5 separate regions of the Homo sapiens genome follow, and all the other regions are linked to region 5. Evidence: promoter capture Hi-C in human tissues and cell types (Jung and others, 2019). All regions are on one chromosome and are shown on one strand. The core of a region is centred on a gene start or on the middle of the fragment in contact, and the rest is flanking DNA. Distances in the headings are between cores, read along the strand shown. Region 1 overlaps RFC1 (replication factor C subunit 1). Region 2 overlaps RFC1 (replication factor C subunit 1). Region 3 overlaps PDS5A (PDS5 cohesin associated factor A). Region 4 overlaps PDS5A (PDS5 cohesin associated factor A). Region 5 holds the start of SMIM14 (small integral membrane protein 14).

Region 1 (3,245 bases), core at 483-2,982, 310 kb before region 5:
CCAAGGCCTGATACAATTAACAGATTTCAGTTCAACCACGTTACAAAGAGTCAACAGACTAGGTTCAGTCATTCATATATATATATACACACACACACACACATATATATATATTCTCCCTACCTAACTACTGGTTCTTCTCTGCCTCTTTGCCAGACGGGAAAAAGGCTTTGCAAAAGGCTAGGTAACATCACCATTCCATTTATAACAGCCACGTGGATCACCCATAATAGTCCTAGTAACTAACCATTGAGAATATAATCTCAAAGTCCTTTCCTTTTCTCTAAAATAATTACACAATGATCATGGTATTATAGAAACTCAAATTTTTTTAATACTTGACAGCTGACCAGCTATACCCAGTATATGTTAAATTTCTTATCTTATTAAATTTTATAATGTTTATTTGCTTTAAGTTCAACAATTGTACTTCTGGGCAAGAGGGAGTCCCTTAATGGAGAAAGAACAAACTTAAATTGTCTCTGAAATGATGGTGCTCTACTAGTTTCCTACCACCTTAAAAATGCCTAAAATACTAACATTCCATTTCCACTACACTTAGCCGTGCTTATAAGCAGTATGACAGAAAACCCCATAGCTGAGTGGGTGAGATCAACTACTATGGAGAGCAGATTGTAACAGGGCAAGAAAAGGGGAAGACAAAAAGTAAATGACCACGTAGGCAAAGATGGCCTCAACAACCATAACAATGGCAGTACAAACAGAGAGATGTGAGTATTGTGTATAATATGGGAAAAAAAATAACCTAAATATCTATTAATATGTATACTCAACCATGTAACAAAATCTCTACAGCAATAAAAATTATAAAAAATATCTATATTTGCTCATAGAAATATATTCATATGTTTACTAGGTGGCAAAAGCAGATGACATAACAGTATGTTTAATGACACTGTTTATCTATAGCTATATACATAACTTTTAAATTCACATTCTAAAATCTGAAAAGAATCAATAAAACATTAACAATTTTTATCTCTGATTAGGGAAATATGGGTAATTTTTATGTTTTTTTCACACCTTTTGATATGGCTTGGCTGTGCCCTTAACCCAAATCTCATCCTGAATTCCCACATTATGGGAGGGATCCAGAGAAAGGTGAATGAATCATGGGGACAGGTCTTTCCTGCGCTGTTCTCGTGATAGTGAATAACTCTCATGAGATCTGATGGTTCTATAAAGGGCAGTTTCCCTGCACAAGCTCTCTTCTCTTGTCTGCCGACACTTGAGACGTGCCTTTCACCTTCCACCATGATTGTGAGGTCCCCAGCCATGTGGAACTGTAAGTCCAATAAACCTCTTTCTTTTATAAATTGCCCAGTTTTGGGTATGTCTTTATTAGCAGCATGAAATCGGACTAATACACCCTTTTCTCCGTCTAATGTTTTACAACAAATTGAATACATCCTAGAACTCTCTGACCCCTTAGCTTTCAGAGTCAGTGCTTTAGTTTCTACCTCCTCTCCACTCTTCTTTGCTTACTTCTGTTCATTATTTATCAGCACCTCTGCTATTCTGTTGCTGGCTTCACAGACTTCATGGTATCTTTTTATTTACTATTAATAAGTTTTTATTGAGCATTAAACTACATGCCAAGAACTTTATAATAAATTATCTTTAGTCAACTAGTCCTACCTCCTTATTCAATACATAGACCCCATTTTCTACATTTCTAACAAAAAAATAGACTAGACTTAAATACTTTCAAAATCGAGCAATGTTAATTCACCTTCTTTCTTTAGCAAATAGCAAAATACTATACTCCTTAGGAAAGTTTTTCCTTATATTAAGTCAAAATACTTCCCTGTGAATTCCACCTACTTTCCTTAATCTATCCGCTGAACAGGGAGAAAAAGTTTATCTACTTTTTCCACATTCAGCCTCTGAAGTCTGCCCTTATTTCTTCCTTACGTCCCCTTCTCTATAAATAGTAAAACAGTTTCAAGCCAATCAACATTTAGGTTACTGGGAAGATTAAATTTTTCTTGAAGGGCCGGACATGGTGGCCCACGCCTATAATCCCAGCACTTTGGGAGGCCAAGACGGAAGGATCACTTGAGCCCAGGAGTTCAAGACCAGCCTGGGCAAAAGAGCAAGACCCCATCTCTACAAATACAATAAGACAAAATTTTAGAGGCTAAGTGCCCAGTGTAGCACCTAGCCATGTTACAGCCATTCAATAAATAAAAGTAGTATTCTCTGGGAAAAACAGTGCTGAACCAGAAGTCTAGAAAACTAAAATTCTAACCTAAGTTTGACTTACTATTTTTAATTAACCATCTGGGTTTCACTGCGATCTTCTGTAAAATGTTGGACCAAACGAACTCTTAAGATTTTCCCCTTTACAATTTTATGACCCTATGGGTAGCCATATAGATTTTTTTAATATTATACACAATATTGGTAAAAATGTGATGAGTTTGTACTAATAAAAACACTAATTATAAAAGTGTAAATTAGTGTGACTTTTCTAGAAAGTAATTTGGTAGAACACACCAGAACCTTAAAGAAGTTCATATCCTTTAGCATAGTAACTCTTGGAGATAATCAGAGGTGATGACAAATATTTGCATATAAATTTAGTCTAGTCATCACACTATTAGGAACATGAAAAGTATAAGCAACTGAAATGCTGAAATCGGGGAAATTTTTATATAAATTATGGTCTAACTATACAATGGACTCATGAAGCCATCAAAAATTAAGCCCAAATTTCGAGGCTGAAAAAAAAAAACCTCATGAAAATAGCAAAACGGCTGTCAAAAAAACAAAATACATCACTCTGTTCTTTTATGTGCACCCTAATGTTATAGGTATAAACATCACCCCTAAAAGGGGAGGTTCTTGTTATGAGCCTCCTCTACCAGAGATCTCTTTACAATAGTGGAGGGTAACAGAGCCCTTCTCTGAATACATGAATTTAAATTGAACAATGTCTTCAAGCTATAGATTTAAAAAATGTACTATAGCTAAACACAGGCATAATTTTATAAACATTTTTATAATTTCTGAGAAAAATTTAATTACACATGGCTCTCCAAAGAAAAAATATGGGAGTGTTCTATAAGATACTTCAAGTATGTTTTCATTGTGTTAAACAAAAAGTGCAAATAAGGCTCCTTTTCTCTGTTAACTACAAAATAAACAGCTCTCTAGGCCCCTAGGAAGGTACGAGTAACTCTAGTAAAACACAGTTATGAAAAGAAAAAGGGAGGGTAATT
Region 2 (3,089 bases), core at 546-3,045, 280 kb before region 5:
AAAAAAAATCAGCCTAGTGTAGTGACACATGCCTGCATGCCTGTAGTCCCAGCTACTCAGGAGGCTGGGGTGGCACTTGCGCGCCAAGAGTTTGAGGCTGCAGTGAGCCATGACCATCACACCACTGTACTCCAGCCTGGGCAACAGAGCAATAACCTATCTTAAAACACACACACACACAAAACTTGTAAAAGGGTTCCTACAAATCAATAAAAGATAACCTAACCAATAGAAAAAATAAATAAAAGCTCCTAATAGGCAAAGTATAAAAGAAATGCAAATAGCCAACACACATAAAAAATGCTAGATGTCACAAATAAGCAGATAAGTTAAAACTTGATCATTTTCCCCTAAGTTTTAGAAGACTGATAATGCCCATATCTGTCAAGGATGTGGGGAAACAGATGCTCACGCACTATACTGCTGATAAAAGTGAAAACTGGTATAACCTTGGCTGGGCGCAATGGCTAACCCCTGTAATACCAGCACTTTGGGAGGCCGAGGTGAGTGGATCACGAGGTCAAGAGATCGAGACCATCCTGGCCGACATGGTGAAACCCCATCTCTACTAAAAATACAAAAATTAGCTGGGCATGGTGGCACACACCTGTAGTCCCAGCTACTTGGGAAGCTGAGGCAGGAAAACCGCTTGAACCCGGGAGGTGGAGGCTGCAGTGAGCCGAGATCATGCCACTGCACTCCAGCCTGGTGACAGAGCGAGACTTCACCTCAAAAAAAAAAAAAAAAAACACTGGTATAACCTTTATGGAAGGCAATCTAGCCACACTTACCAAAATTTTAAAGGTACATACCCTTTGCCCAGTAATTTCATTTCTAAAAGAAATGGTAGGCAGGGCGTGATGGCTCACACCTGTAATCCCAGCACTTTGGGAGGCCGAGGCGGGTGGATTACGAGGTCAGGAGTTCCAGACTGGCCTGGCCAACATGGCAAAACCCCATCTCTACTAAAAATACAAAAATTAGCCGAGCTTGGTGGTACGTGCCTGTAATCCCAGCTACTCAGGAGGCTGAGGCAGGAGAACGGCTTGAGCCCGGGAAGTGGAGGGTGCAGTGGACCAAGATCACGCCACTGCACTCCAGCCTGGGGAAAAAGTGCAAAACTCCGTCTTAAAAACAAAAAAATTCATTGAACACATGAACGGTTATTCCTCAGGCCACTGACCTTCACAACTGCACTCAGAAAGAGAGGTTCTTGATTATGTAAACCAAAATAAATGGTAGATTTGTTTTTAAAGATTATGTATTAAAAGAATCTTTTAATTGGGATTAACTTTGTGCTATGACTTTACCTAAGAAATTTTAAGAAGGTATTAAATTAATGCTGATTATATATTATTTCTGAGCTAAGTTAATAAAACTGAGTTTCTATAATTGATTTTCTGTTACTCTCATATTAAAACATTGTGGCTACAAAAAACAAAAATATACTTTCACTTTTAGTAGGACATTTCCTCTTCTTTAAAATTTATTTTAAGTCAAACTAATAACTTTTTTAAAGAAATCAGAAATATCTCTAGATTTATAATTGATGTTACTAATTTAACAGTCTAGCATGGGTCTCAAAAACTTCTCTGAGGAAAACACTGGTGAGTGAAATATAAGTGTGGTCTGAAAAACTTTTGAACAGTAACAAGTTCTAGCTAGGAAGAATTTTAAGAGCCCGCATCAACTTTTTTCATTCAATCATTCATTTATCCATTCAAGAAATATTTACTCAGAGCCTTTTATGGACCAAGAACTATTTTTGATGCTTGGGATAAACAAAACAGGCTAGGTCTCTGTTCTTGTGAAGCTTTCATTCTACTTTCTGTTCCTAATCTTTCTTTAATCCATCTTTAGAAAACAAAGCAGAGCACAGAAAAGAAAGAACAGAAGAAATAAAGCACACTGAGGGAACAGAAATAGAGAATAGAAACTACTTCCCCTACTCACCCCAGTATCTGTTAAGTCTACCTGAGAGGCCACTCCCATGACAGCAAAAAGACCCATTTCTACTGCTGTTGTGGCAAGAGGGAAGAATAAGATTCTGAAGTCATAATATTTACTATCATTGAGCTTTAGACTACGCATTCAATGAAATACTCTATCACAGAAGTTTCCAGGTACCTGATCCAAAAATACAAATCAACACAGGCATATTAAAATAGCAAATGGAAATAATTATCTAATTTAAGTTTAAAAAGCATCTTTTCATACCTGCATAACTGGGATAACTAAAGCATTTGAGACTGTTTATGCCTGATCTAATGGTTTATTTCAGAATTTTGACATTTTCACCAGGGCTAATGTACTCCGATTATGGTTTTTATTCATCCAGGAGCTAACTTTTTTTTTTTTTTCCCTTGAGACAGAGTCTTGCACTGTCGCCCAGGCTGGAGTGCAGTGGGGCGATTTCAGCTCACTGCAACCTCCAACTCCCAGGTTCATGCAGTTGTCCTGCCTCAGCCTCCCAAGTAGCTGGGATTACAGGTGCCCATCACCATACCCAGCTAATTTTTCTGTATTTTTAGTAGGGACAGGGTTTCACTATGTTGGCCAGGCTGGTCTCAAACTCCTGACCTCATGATCCACCTCCCAAAGTGCCAGGATTACAGGCATGAGCCACAGCGCCCGGCCCAGAAGCTAGCTTTTTACAACTGACTTCTGAGCCAAAAAAATCAAATTTAAACTACTTAAATGAACACAGAAATAAAGTCCAACTGGGCCAAGCGCAGTGGCTCACACCTGTAATCCCAGCACTTTGGGAGGCCAAGGCGGGTGGATCACCTGAGGTTGGGAGTTCGAGACCAGCCTGACCAACATGGAGAAACCCTGTCTCTACTTAAAAATACAAAAATAGCCAGGCATGGTGGTGCACACCTGTAATCCCAGCTACTAGGGAGGCTGAGACAGGAGAATCACTTCAACCTGGGAGGCAGAGGTTGCAGTGAGCTGAGATCGCACCATTGCACTCCAGCCTGGCCAAGAGCAAAATTCCGTTTCAAAAAAAAAGAAATTAAGTCCAAACTGAAAATAGACCTACAACATAATAAAATAACTGTATTTCTCTAGGCAATATTATTTGTCGC
Region 3 (3,254 bases), core at 34-2,533, 320 kb after region 5:
GGGCATGTGCCACCACCCTCGGCTAATTTTTGTATTATTTTAGTAGAGGTGGGGTTTCACCATGATGGCCAGGCTGGTCTTGAACTCCTGACCTCAGGTGATCCACCCGCCTTGGCCTCTCAAAGTGCTGGGATTACAGGTGTTAGCCACCGTGCCCAGCCTGAAATACATTGTCAAGACATAAATAAGTACCCATTGTCAAGAGATAAGTAAAAAAAAAAAAAAAAAAAAAAAAAAACAGAAACAGAGGTGGACCAAACGCTAAAGCTATCAGACAGAGACGTTAAAATAACTATGAGGCCAGGCAGAGAGCCTCATGCCTGTTAATAGGCATGAACACTTTGGGAGGCTGAGGCAGGAGGATCACGTGAGTCCAGGAGTTTGAGACCTGGGCAACATGACAAACCCCGTGTCTACAAACAATACAAAAATTAGCTAGGCGTGGTAGCACATGCCTGTAGTCTCTACTACTTGGGAGGCTGAGATGGGAGGATGGCTTGAACCCAGGAGGTGGAGGCAGCAGTGAGCCATGATCATGAAACTGAACGCCAGCCAGCCTGGGTGACAGAGCGAGACCCTGTCACAAACAAAAAATATAAATAAATAAATAAAGCATGCTGATTATCATCAGGATTTAAAGTAAATCAGCACTTAGAGCTCACCCTGGCCAAACAAGAAAAGCCAAAATTAGGAATATTAAAGGACAATATGCTAAATCTAACTTAGAGTTTAAACCAAGAGCATTACATGAATAGAACATTTGGGATTTACCATGCTGAAAAATATACAAGGAAACAATACACGAATATGGACTTTGAGTGATAATGTTGTGATGTTGGTTTAGAAATATAGCACTCTAGGGCCGGGCGTGGTGGCTCAAACCTGTAATCCCAGCACTTTGGGAGGCTGAGGTGGGCAGATCACCTGAAATCAGGAGTTCGAGACCAGCCTGACCAACATGGTGAAACCCCGTCTCTACCAAAAATACAAAAAATTACCCAGGTGTCGTGGCGGATGCTTGTAATCCCAGCTTGGGAGGCTGAGGTGGGAGAACTGCTTGAACCCGGGGGAGCGGAGGTTGCAGTGAGCTGAGATCATGCTACTGTGCTCCAGCCCGGGTGACAGAGCGAGACTCTGTCATAAAAAAACAACAACAAAACAAACAAATGTACCACTCTGGAAGGTGACTGAGGGGAGGCATTACTGTGGGAGGCATGTGTGACTGGGGAGGGGAAGTCTTCCTGGGGGACGGGAGTGTTACTGAGGAGTGAGTCCAGGGGGTTTGTTGGGAATACTCTGTACATTCCAGCAATTTGGCTGTGAACCTAAAACTGCCCTAAAAAAAAAAGTCTGTTTAAAAATTTGAACAGTTAAGGCCGGTGTGGTGGTTCACACCTGTAATCACAGCACTTTGGGGGGCCAAGGCAGGTGGATTACCTGAGGTCAGGAGTTCGAGACCAGCCTGGCCAACATGGCGAAACCCCATCTCTACTAAAAATACAAAAATTAGCCAGACATGGTGGTGGCACACACCTGTAGTCCCAGCTGCTCGGGAGGCTGACGTGGGAGGATTGCTTGAACATGGGAGGCAGAGGTTGCAGTGAGCTGCGATCTCGCCACTGCACTCCAGCTTAAGAAACAGACTGAGACTGCCTCTCAAAAAAAAAAAAGAACAATTTTAAAAAACAGTATAAGAAAAACGTATAGAACAATTGAGATAGCAGCAGTGGATTACAGTATTAAACATTTGGCAGGGTGCGATGGCTCACACCTGTAATCCCAGCACTTTTGGGAGGCTATGGCAGGCAAATCACTTGAGATCAAGAGTTGGAGACTAGCCCGGCCAACATGCTGAAACCCTATGTTTACCAAAAAATACAAAAATTAGCCAGGTATGGTGGCTCATGCCTGTAGTCCCAGCTACTTGGGAGGCTGAGGTGGGAGGATCGCTTGAACCCAGGAGGCAGAAGTTGCAGTGAGCCAAGATTGCGCCACTGCACTCTAGCCTGGGTGACAGAGCGAGACTGTCTCAAAAAAAAAAAAAAAAAAAGTCTGATAAAATATCAAGGAAATATGAGAACTGAACACAGCAAACAAAGCTATACAACATTATTTCAAAAACATCTAAAGACAATTTTATTTTATTACTACCTGGTTTTTACCCTTTCTTCAAAGCTTTATAGGTATATGCTTCAAGAAGAAAGACAGATTTTCTTACTTTTTTTTTTTTGGAGACAGGTTCTCACTCTGTCACCCAGGCTGGAGTGCTGCGGCACAATTATGGTTCACTGTACACTTAATCTCCTTGGCTTAAACAATCCTCCTGCCTCAGCCTCCAGAGTGGGCAGGACTATAGGCGCCTGCACCACATCCAGCTAATTTTTGTATTTTTTGTAGAGAAGAGGTTTTGCCATGTTGCCCGCGCTAGTCTCAAACTCCTGGCCTCAAGTGATCTGCCTTGCCTCAGCCTCCCAAAGTGCTGGGATTACAGGCGTGAGCCACCTCACCCAGCCAAAAGACATTTTCTAAATAACTTCTGCCAGAAACAAAGTATTCTCTTTATCTACACTGACTCAATCTTCATGAATCTTAGGAAAAATTTTTATTCAATGATTTTCTTTTCACACACAAGGAATCCACCTCTACTTATTCTATAGTGGCTACGTGAGGGATATTCAATAAGCATTTGAAGTTATAGGATAATTATACATGGCCACAGAACTTAACCCAATTTTCAAGTATTAAACTTAACAAAATAAAATAATGGCATCAATTTACTATTAAGGTTTACTTAGGGCCAGCGTGGGGGCTCACACCACTGCACTCCAGCCTGGGGGACAAGGCGAGACTCCATCGCAAGAAAAAAAAGAAAAAGAAAAAGCATACACTAAGTGATTTTTTAAAATTCATATTATAATTAAGTACATAAAATGTTGCTAGCCACTCTTTAAATTTTACTCATCCACGGCTTTCACACCTATTGTCAGATGACTATAATCTCAGCAACAAACAAATTTACTCAGACAGCATCAATTAGAAATGGATTCCTGGGCCAGGCACAGTGGCCTGTAATCCTAGCACTTTGGGAGGCCAAAGAGGGCGGACCACGAGGTCAGGAGATGGAGACCATCCTGGCTAACACGGTGAAACCCCATCTCTACTAAAAGTACAAAAAAATTAGCCGGGCGTGGTGGCGGGCGCCTGTAGTCCCAGCTACTCGGGAGGCTGAGGCAGGAGAATGGCATGAACCCGGC
Region 4 (3,047 bases), core at 397-2,896, 270 kb after region 5:
GCTTAATATTATGCTACAAAGTAAAAAATATTCAAAACACACAAAATCAGTTTGAAGAATAAGTTTATAGGAGATTCCAGGCACGGTGGCTGACACCTGTAATCACTGCACTTTGGGAGGCGGAGACAGGTGGATTGCTTGTGGCCAGGAGTTTAAGACCAGCCTTGAACACATGGCAAAACCCTGTCTCTACAAAATATACAAAAATTAGGCAGGCATGGTAGCATGCCTCTGTAGTCCCAGCTATTACTCAGGAAGCTGAGGTGGGTGGATTGCTTGCACTCAGGAGTTCAAGATCAGCCTTGAAAACACAGCACAGCCCTGTCTCTACAAAAAAACACAAAAATCAGCCGGGCGTGGAGGCATTCCCCTGTAGTCCCAGCTACTTGGGAGGGTGAGGTGGAAGGACTGCTTGAGCCCAGGAGGTCGAGGCTGCAGTAAGCCATAATTGTGCCACTGCACTCCAACCTGGGTAACAGACCCTGTCTCAAAACAAAACAAGACGAAAGGTTTATATGAGACAAACACTGGGAAACTTGAGGTAGAGAGCAAACCATATATAAGGGGCAAATCCAGAAGTTCAAAGATGAGTGCAGAAAATGTGTTACTAGCTCAGGCATGGTGGTGGGTGCCTGTAATACCAGCTACTCAGGAGGCCGAGGCAGGAGAATTGCTTGAACCCGCCAGGCAGAGGTTGCAGTGAGCAGAGATCACGTCACTGCACTCCAGCCTGGGCGATGAAGTAAGACTCCGTCTCAAAAAAAAAAAAAAAATTTGTGTTGCACTGTCTCACCACTTAAGTTTCTTTTGGCCAGCACCAACTTGTATTACAGTGCTCTTTTAAAGGTCTAGTATACGTTAAGAATTCAATTAACATACAACACAATATGTAGACTCAAAAATGCACATGTTGGCCGGGCGCGGTGGCTCACACCTGCAATCTCAGCACTTTGGGAGGCCGAGGCGGGCAAATCACGAGGTCGGGAGATCAAGACCATCCTGGCTAACACGGTGAAACCCTGTCTCTACTAAAAATACAAAAAATTAGCCGGGCGCACTGGCGGGCGCCTGTAGTCCCAGCTGTTTGGGAGGCTGAGGCAGGAGAATGGCATGAACCCGGGAGGCGAAGCTTGCAGTGAGCAGAGATCGCGCCACTGCACTCCAGCCTGGGCGACAGAGTGAGACTCCGTCTCAATTAAAAAAAAAAAAAAAAAAAATGCACATGTTAAGGATAAGGTAAGGAACCCTCAAATTTAAAACAGATTATTAGGCAACTTTTAAAATATACTGATTAATGATAAATAATGTGATCTGAAATAGCTGGAAGTATTTTTATTTTTGAAATGATCTCATAAAAAAACCAAGTAAACAAAAATTGTTTAATAAACGTCTTAATGTCTATGGCCTCCCACTTTCTTACCCAGATAAAATTTTCATGTGTTAATAAAATACTGCATTTAGGATTTGTAATTCTCTGGCTGGCAGAGAAAAATTATACATTATTAATGATCAAGTAATTACAAAGTATCAAAACACTTAACGCTATAATTATGGAAAATAATACTGCAGACTGTGACTTGTTTCTATGAATCAGAGACACCACTACAGTTAGCAGTGAGTGTAAAATAATGAGTGTCAGAAACTTATATTGGGTGATTTCATTTTTAAAAGTAACCAAAGTGAAAAATGAAGCCTTGCGTTTTTGCTTAAATGATTTACAAAAAATATTTGATGTCCATCCTGGGATAGGGAATTCCTCCCCCATAACTTTGAAAGTGCAGTTGCTTCATTCCCACCATTCAAAATTCTCATGGAGTCACATTTAGTTATTCAACTATTTAGCATTTATTCCTATAAGACCTTCAAAATGGCGTGTTCTGGGCAAGTAACTGCTAAGATAGCAGTAGGCCTTGTCAGCGATTTCTCAGAACCTAGGATTAGTATGAGAACTATTATGGTGAATTTACATCAAGAAAAATTCTGGCACCAACTACTGAATCAGTTGAACTAAAACAACGGAGAATCTCGAACATCTCCAGAATATTAATAGTAAATATCTACTTTCCAATCAGCTTTTAAAGCAAAACAGGTAAATGGAATGCAAGGAGAAATTTAATGAATTTCATAAATTTGTCAACACTACTATCAAGCCAAATAGAATTTAGTCATTCTAAGCTCTTGAGAAGAAACATTAAAAACTATCTGAGTTAATGGCAATCATATTTTCCACTTAAAAATCATACAATTATACCAAATTAGTTAAAACACACCATACAATGTGTTCAGATAAGTTACAGACCCAAACGACAAGCACTAGTAAATGAAAAAGTTGGTAGGCTGACAAATGGCACAGGTTCTTAAATTTGGATCAGTATGTATTCAGTTTCATGATTTAAAGATCTTAAGACTTAGAATATACTGCAATGCTGTTTATTTATTCTAATGACTTTCTTTTTTTTTTTTTTTAGACAGAGTCTCACTCTGTCACTCCGGCTGGAATGCAGTGGCTTGAACTCAACTCAGTACAAACTCTGCCTCCCGGGTTCAAGGATTCTCCCGCCTCAGCCTCTTGCGTAGTTGCGGTTCCAGGTGCCGGTCACCACCCCTGGTTAATTTTTGTATTTTTAGTAGAGACACCATGTTGGTCAGGCTGGTCTCCTGAACTCCTGACCTCAAGTGATCCGCCCACCTCAGCCTCCCAAAGTGCTGGGATTACAGGCATGAGCCACCACGGCTGGCCATGACATTATTTTAACACAAAGAAGTTAAAAAGAGTTACACAGATAAAATACTAAGCTTTCTTCATAAAAAATTTTTCATACAATTTATTCCATAAGAAGGATGGAAACACAGATGACAATGAAACCAACATCTATTAATGAAAGTTTTGATATGTATAGTTTTAATCAAGTGGACTGCACCCTACTGACTATTTTCTAAAATATAAACATCAGAATTATATGTTCTCTTACCGTCCAAGAAAACATTGCCAAAGAGGACGATTCTGTGTTGCCAAATCAGAATCTTTGGAGCCAAACAATTTAGCT
Region 5 (3,211 bases), core at 201-2,700:
AGGGGTTCATGTTATACCACAAGGACATACCCTTCAAGGAAATAATCTAAACTCATAACTCTTCCTGGGTTTGATAAGGAGCAATTAACTATCACGTACTGTTGTTCTTTCTTGCTGTTAACCACTGAAACACCTCAATTAATGAGTTCTCGGGGGTGAAGCGGTGTTCTTAAACACCACGTTGGAAAAAAAAAAAAAGTTAGGACAAAAAGGTTTGGTTTTCTGGTCGCAGTGCTGTCGACGGCCGCGGAGAGCGGCAAGTTCGGAGCAGGCTACACTAAAGGAATCTGCGCGGCCAGCCACCCTAAGTGGAAGGGAATGCAAAGCCTCCTGCAACCTCCACAGCGCTGGGCAGCAAGAATGCCTCCTAAGCGTCCCAACACTCCAACACCTGGAAGGTCTTACGCTTTCCAAGTTATAATATGTACAGCTGCTGTTTCTGACAATAACACACACAAACTGGAAGGTCTCTTCTGCAAATGTAGCTATTACGTGTGTGAAGCTCATCCGACTCTCTCGATGCAAAAGTAACACATTCTATTAAGGCCACAGCCTCGGTTTTGCCAACTGGGGCAACTGAAAACATCCTACCGACTCTCTACAGCTAGCAAACCATCTCGGCTAAAATCCTGGCACATATAAACAGCCACTTTGGTGAAGTCTGCCTTTAAACAGCAACACGGGACTTCGGGTAGAGCCGGTAACCAGTTTATCACACACTATTAGTTCCAATAAAGGGTGCTGCTACCTCTTTACTGTCAGCCTTGGTTCCACTTACTGAGCAAACAGAAAAAGGGGATCCTTTAAATTCGCGACACAATAGGAGCTAAAAAGCTCTCGCTTTCAGGGTGTCAGCTTTCTCGTCTCACTTATCACAACAAAGGACGCATCCTAGTGACTTCACCGTACCCAGAAAGGGCTGAGGGAGACGGTAAACAAGATAGTGTGGATTTCAGGATTTGTGAGTTTTTCCTTCCAGCTACGACTCTCTTTTTACTCCATGATACGCCTCCACCCGTCGACAATCTGATCCTAAAAATAAAACCACCCGTGGCTACCTTGCCCTTGCCTGCAAAGCCCCGACTCTGACATCCTGCAGAGAATACCCAATTGCAGGCTCTTCGCGGGGGACGCGGGCTCGGCAGCAGCGGAGCTTCTCCCGGTGCAGAATCGCCAGCCCGGCCGAGGAAACGCCAAGCCCGAGAAACAGCCCTGTTCTGCCGCAGCCGCCGCAGTCCCCGAGAGCCTGAGGAGCCCCCAGGAAAAACTGGGGCGAGGGGAGGGTGAGCCAGCAAACGCTGGTGGGAGAGGGGGAGACACTCACCCGCCCAGACAACAACCGATGGGGCGGGGAGGATGGGGGCCGGGACCGAGGCTCGGCAGAAAGACCGCCTGGAGCTTCCAGAAGGCTGCGGCTGCTCCGGACGCTGCTGCCACTGCCGTTTCTGGCCGCCGGCTTCCTCCCCCTCCTCTGTTTTGATTCGAGTGACCACGTCACTCTTAGCCACAAGACCCGGATCTGCCGGCTCCCGCGGGCGGCGGCGCAACAGATTGCAGCGCCTGGAGACTCCAGCTGCCCCGCCTGCCGAGCATGCGCATGCCCAGCGCCTGCCCTGTGCGTCCCGGGAAGCCGGGCGGGAGCCTGCGGCTTCGGACGCCTACGACACGCTGTGCGTGGGGGCGCGGAGTGCGGGGGATGTAGTTCCGGTTGGGAGGGGCGTGGCTGAGGACTGTGAAGCAATCGGGGCGAGGCCGGGTGTCTGTTCAACTCTCCCGCGTATCGTCTGTTTCTTCGGCGGCGGACAGTGTTCTGTAATGTGTCTCCCGTTGCCCGAGCTAAAGGTTTTCCTCGACGGAGTCTTTAGAATACCGTGGTAGAGGTAGACGCGGTTACAAATTGATGTCTGTTGAGACAGTCTACCCCTGTAAAGTGTTTTTGGTTACTCAGGCCCGGATGGAAATTGGAGATGGGGATTACAAAAATACATCAAATGTGGCTGTTATTGATTCCCTTTACCTTAACATTTTTGCACCGGAAACGACCAAAATTAAGTTCAACAGGAATATTAATAAAAGGAATATGTAGTCGGGCTTGGTGACTCATGCCTGTAATCCCAGCACTTCAGGAGGCAGAGGTGGGCGGATCACTTGAGGTCAGGAGTCCGAGACCAGCCTGGCCGACATGGTGAAACCCCATCTCCACTAAAAACACAAAAATTAGCCGGGCATGGTGGTGCCCGCTTGTAGTCCCAGCTACTCGGGAGGCTGAGGTGGAAGAATCGCTTGAACCCGGGAGGCGGAGGTTGCAGTGAGCCGAGATCGCGCCACTGCACTCCAGCCTGGGTGATAGTGAGACTTTGTCTCAAACTAAATAATTAAAGATATGTGACCAAAGATGACTTGCTGGTCAGGAGATAATGGGGAAGTAGGAGGGAATGCTGTGGCTAGGCAGCCAGCCAGCCCAAGTCTTAGTTGCTTTGGTTGTAGAGCTGGAATAAGAGTGCTGCTTTTACCCAATCTTCCTTTTAGAGCAAGTTGGTGCTTCCTATTCTCCCATTCTAGTCTCTGAGTCTCCCCGCTAAATTTTGGGGGCCCTGGAAATTTCCCAATTTGGCAAAATGCAGAACTATATTGTTTTCTTAGGTCCTTCAGTTGGCAAGCTTTAATTAAAATGGGACAAGTGGCGAAGTAAAAGTGAATCCCAAACAAAGATTTTACGAAAGTGCCTCTCTGCCAGTCTTGACGGAGAGGTGAAAGCTGCAAGCTTTCTTACTCAGATTTGATGACCTTTTCACTTACCCAGACTTCCACCTCAGCAATTTGGTTAATTACCCCTCGACAAGCTGAATCACCTTCCCCAAATAAGTATCATTTACAAGAGCTTTTTAATTAAAGTGGATATTGAACACAGGTAAAGGTTTCTAGAAAATTAAAGGTTTCTGGTAAAACTTGAAGTGTTTCCCAGTTAACTAATTGCAAAGTAGATACAAAGAATAAAGATTTTGGCCCTTAATCTGCAACCTTGAACTCTGCTTACTCAAATTCAGAGTTTGAGATGGAATCTGGTGCCCTAATGAGCTGACACTGTACCAAAGGGTCTTTAATTTGTGCAACTCCAAACAAAATCTGTTATGCTTGAGTGCACCCATGGGCACGTATGTGTTTGAGAACACAGCTGTGTTTAAGAGAACAGTATGGTACAAAACTAGAA

Evidence for each region. Contacts are between HindIII fragments. The study calls those that stand out against the background at their distance.
Region 1: a contact is called between a fragment that was not itself captured here and the fragment with the promoter of SMIM14 in region 5, in 1 of the 25 tissues and cell types used here (hippocampus).
Region 2: a contact is called between a fragment that was not itself captured here and the fragment with the promoter of SMIM14 in region 5, in 1 of the 25 tissues and cell types used here (hippocampus).
Region 3: a contact is called between a fragment that was not itself captured here and the fragment with the promoter of SMIM14 in region 5, in 1 of the 25 tissues and cell types used here (aorta).
Region 4: a fragment that was not itself captured here is called in contact with the fragment with the promoter of SMIM14 in region 5 in 1 of the 25 tissues and cell types used here (lymphoblastoid cells).

Annotation. Positions count from the first base shown.
Region 1 is chr4:39,330,821-39,334,065 of GRCh38, forward strand. All of the region lies in intron 4 of RFC1 (replication factor C subunit 1), which reads right to left. Among named protein-coding and RNA genes, the nearest start is that of RFC1, 34 kb to the right of the region's middle. The HindIII fragment of the contact is 5,172 bases long and covers 1-3,245 here.
Region 2 is chr4:39,355,270-39,358,358 of GRCh38, forward strand. All of the region lies in intron 1 of RFC1 (replication factor C subunit 1), which reads right to left. Among named protein-coding and RNA genes, the nearest start is that of RFC1, 9.5 kb to the right of the region's middle. The HindIII fragment of the contact is 7,671 bases long and covers 1-3,089 here.
Region 3 is chr4:39,954,460-39,957,713 of GRCh38, forward strand. All of the region lies in intron 2 of PDS5A (PDS5 cohesin associated factor A), which reads right to left. Among named protein-coding and RNA genes, the nearest start is that of PDS5A, 22 kb to the right of the region's middle. The HindIII fragment of the contact is 7,115 bases long and covers 1-3,254 here.
Region 4 is chr4:39,910,639-39,913,685 of GRCh38, forward strand. PDS5A (PDS5 cohesin associated factor A) reads right to left here. Exons shown (of 33, transcript NM_001100399.2): 9 at 2,973-3,047. Among named protein-coding and RNA genes, the nearest start is that of PDS5A, 66 kb to the right of the region's middle. The HindIII fragment of the contact is 3,276 bases long and covers 9-3,047 here.
Region 5 is chr4:39,637,415-39,640,625 of GRCh38, forward strand. It overlaps SMIM14 (small integral membrane protein 14), which reads right to left and starts at 1,451. Exons shown (of 5, transcript NM_174921.3): 1 at 1,325-1,451. It overlaps SMIM14-DT (SMIM14 divergent transcript), which reads left to right and starts at 1,726. Exons shown (of 6, transcript NR_183845.1): 1 at 1,726-1,880. RefSeq lists an enhancer at 1,393-2,110. The HindIII fragment of the contact is 11,439 bases long and covers 1-3,211 here.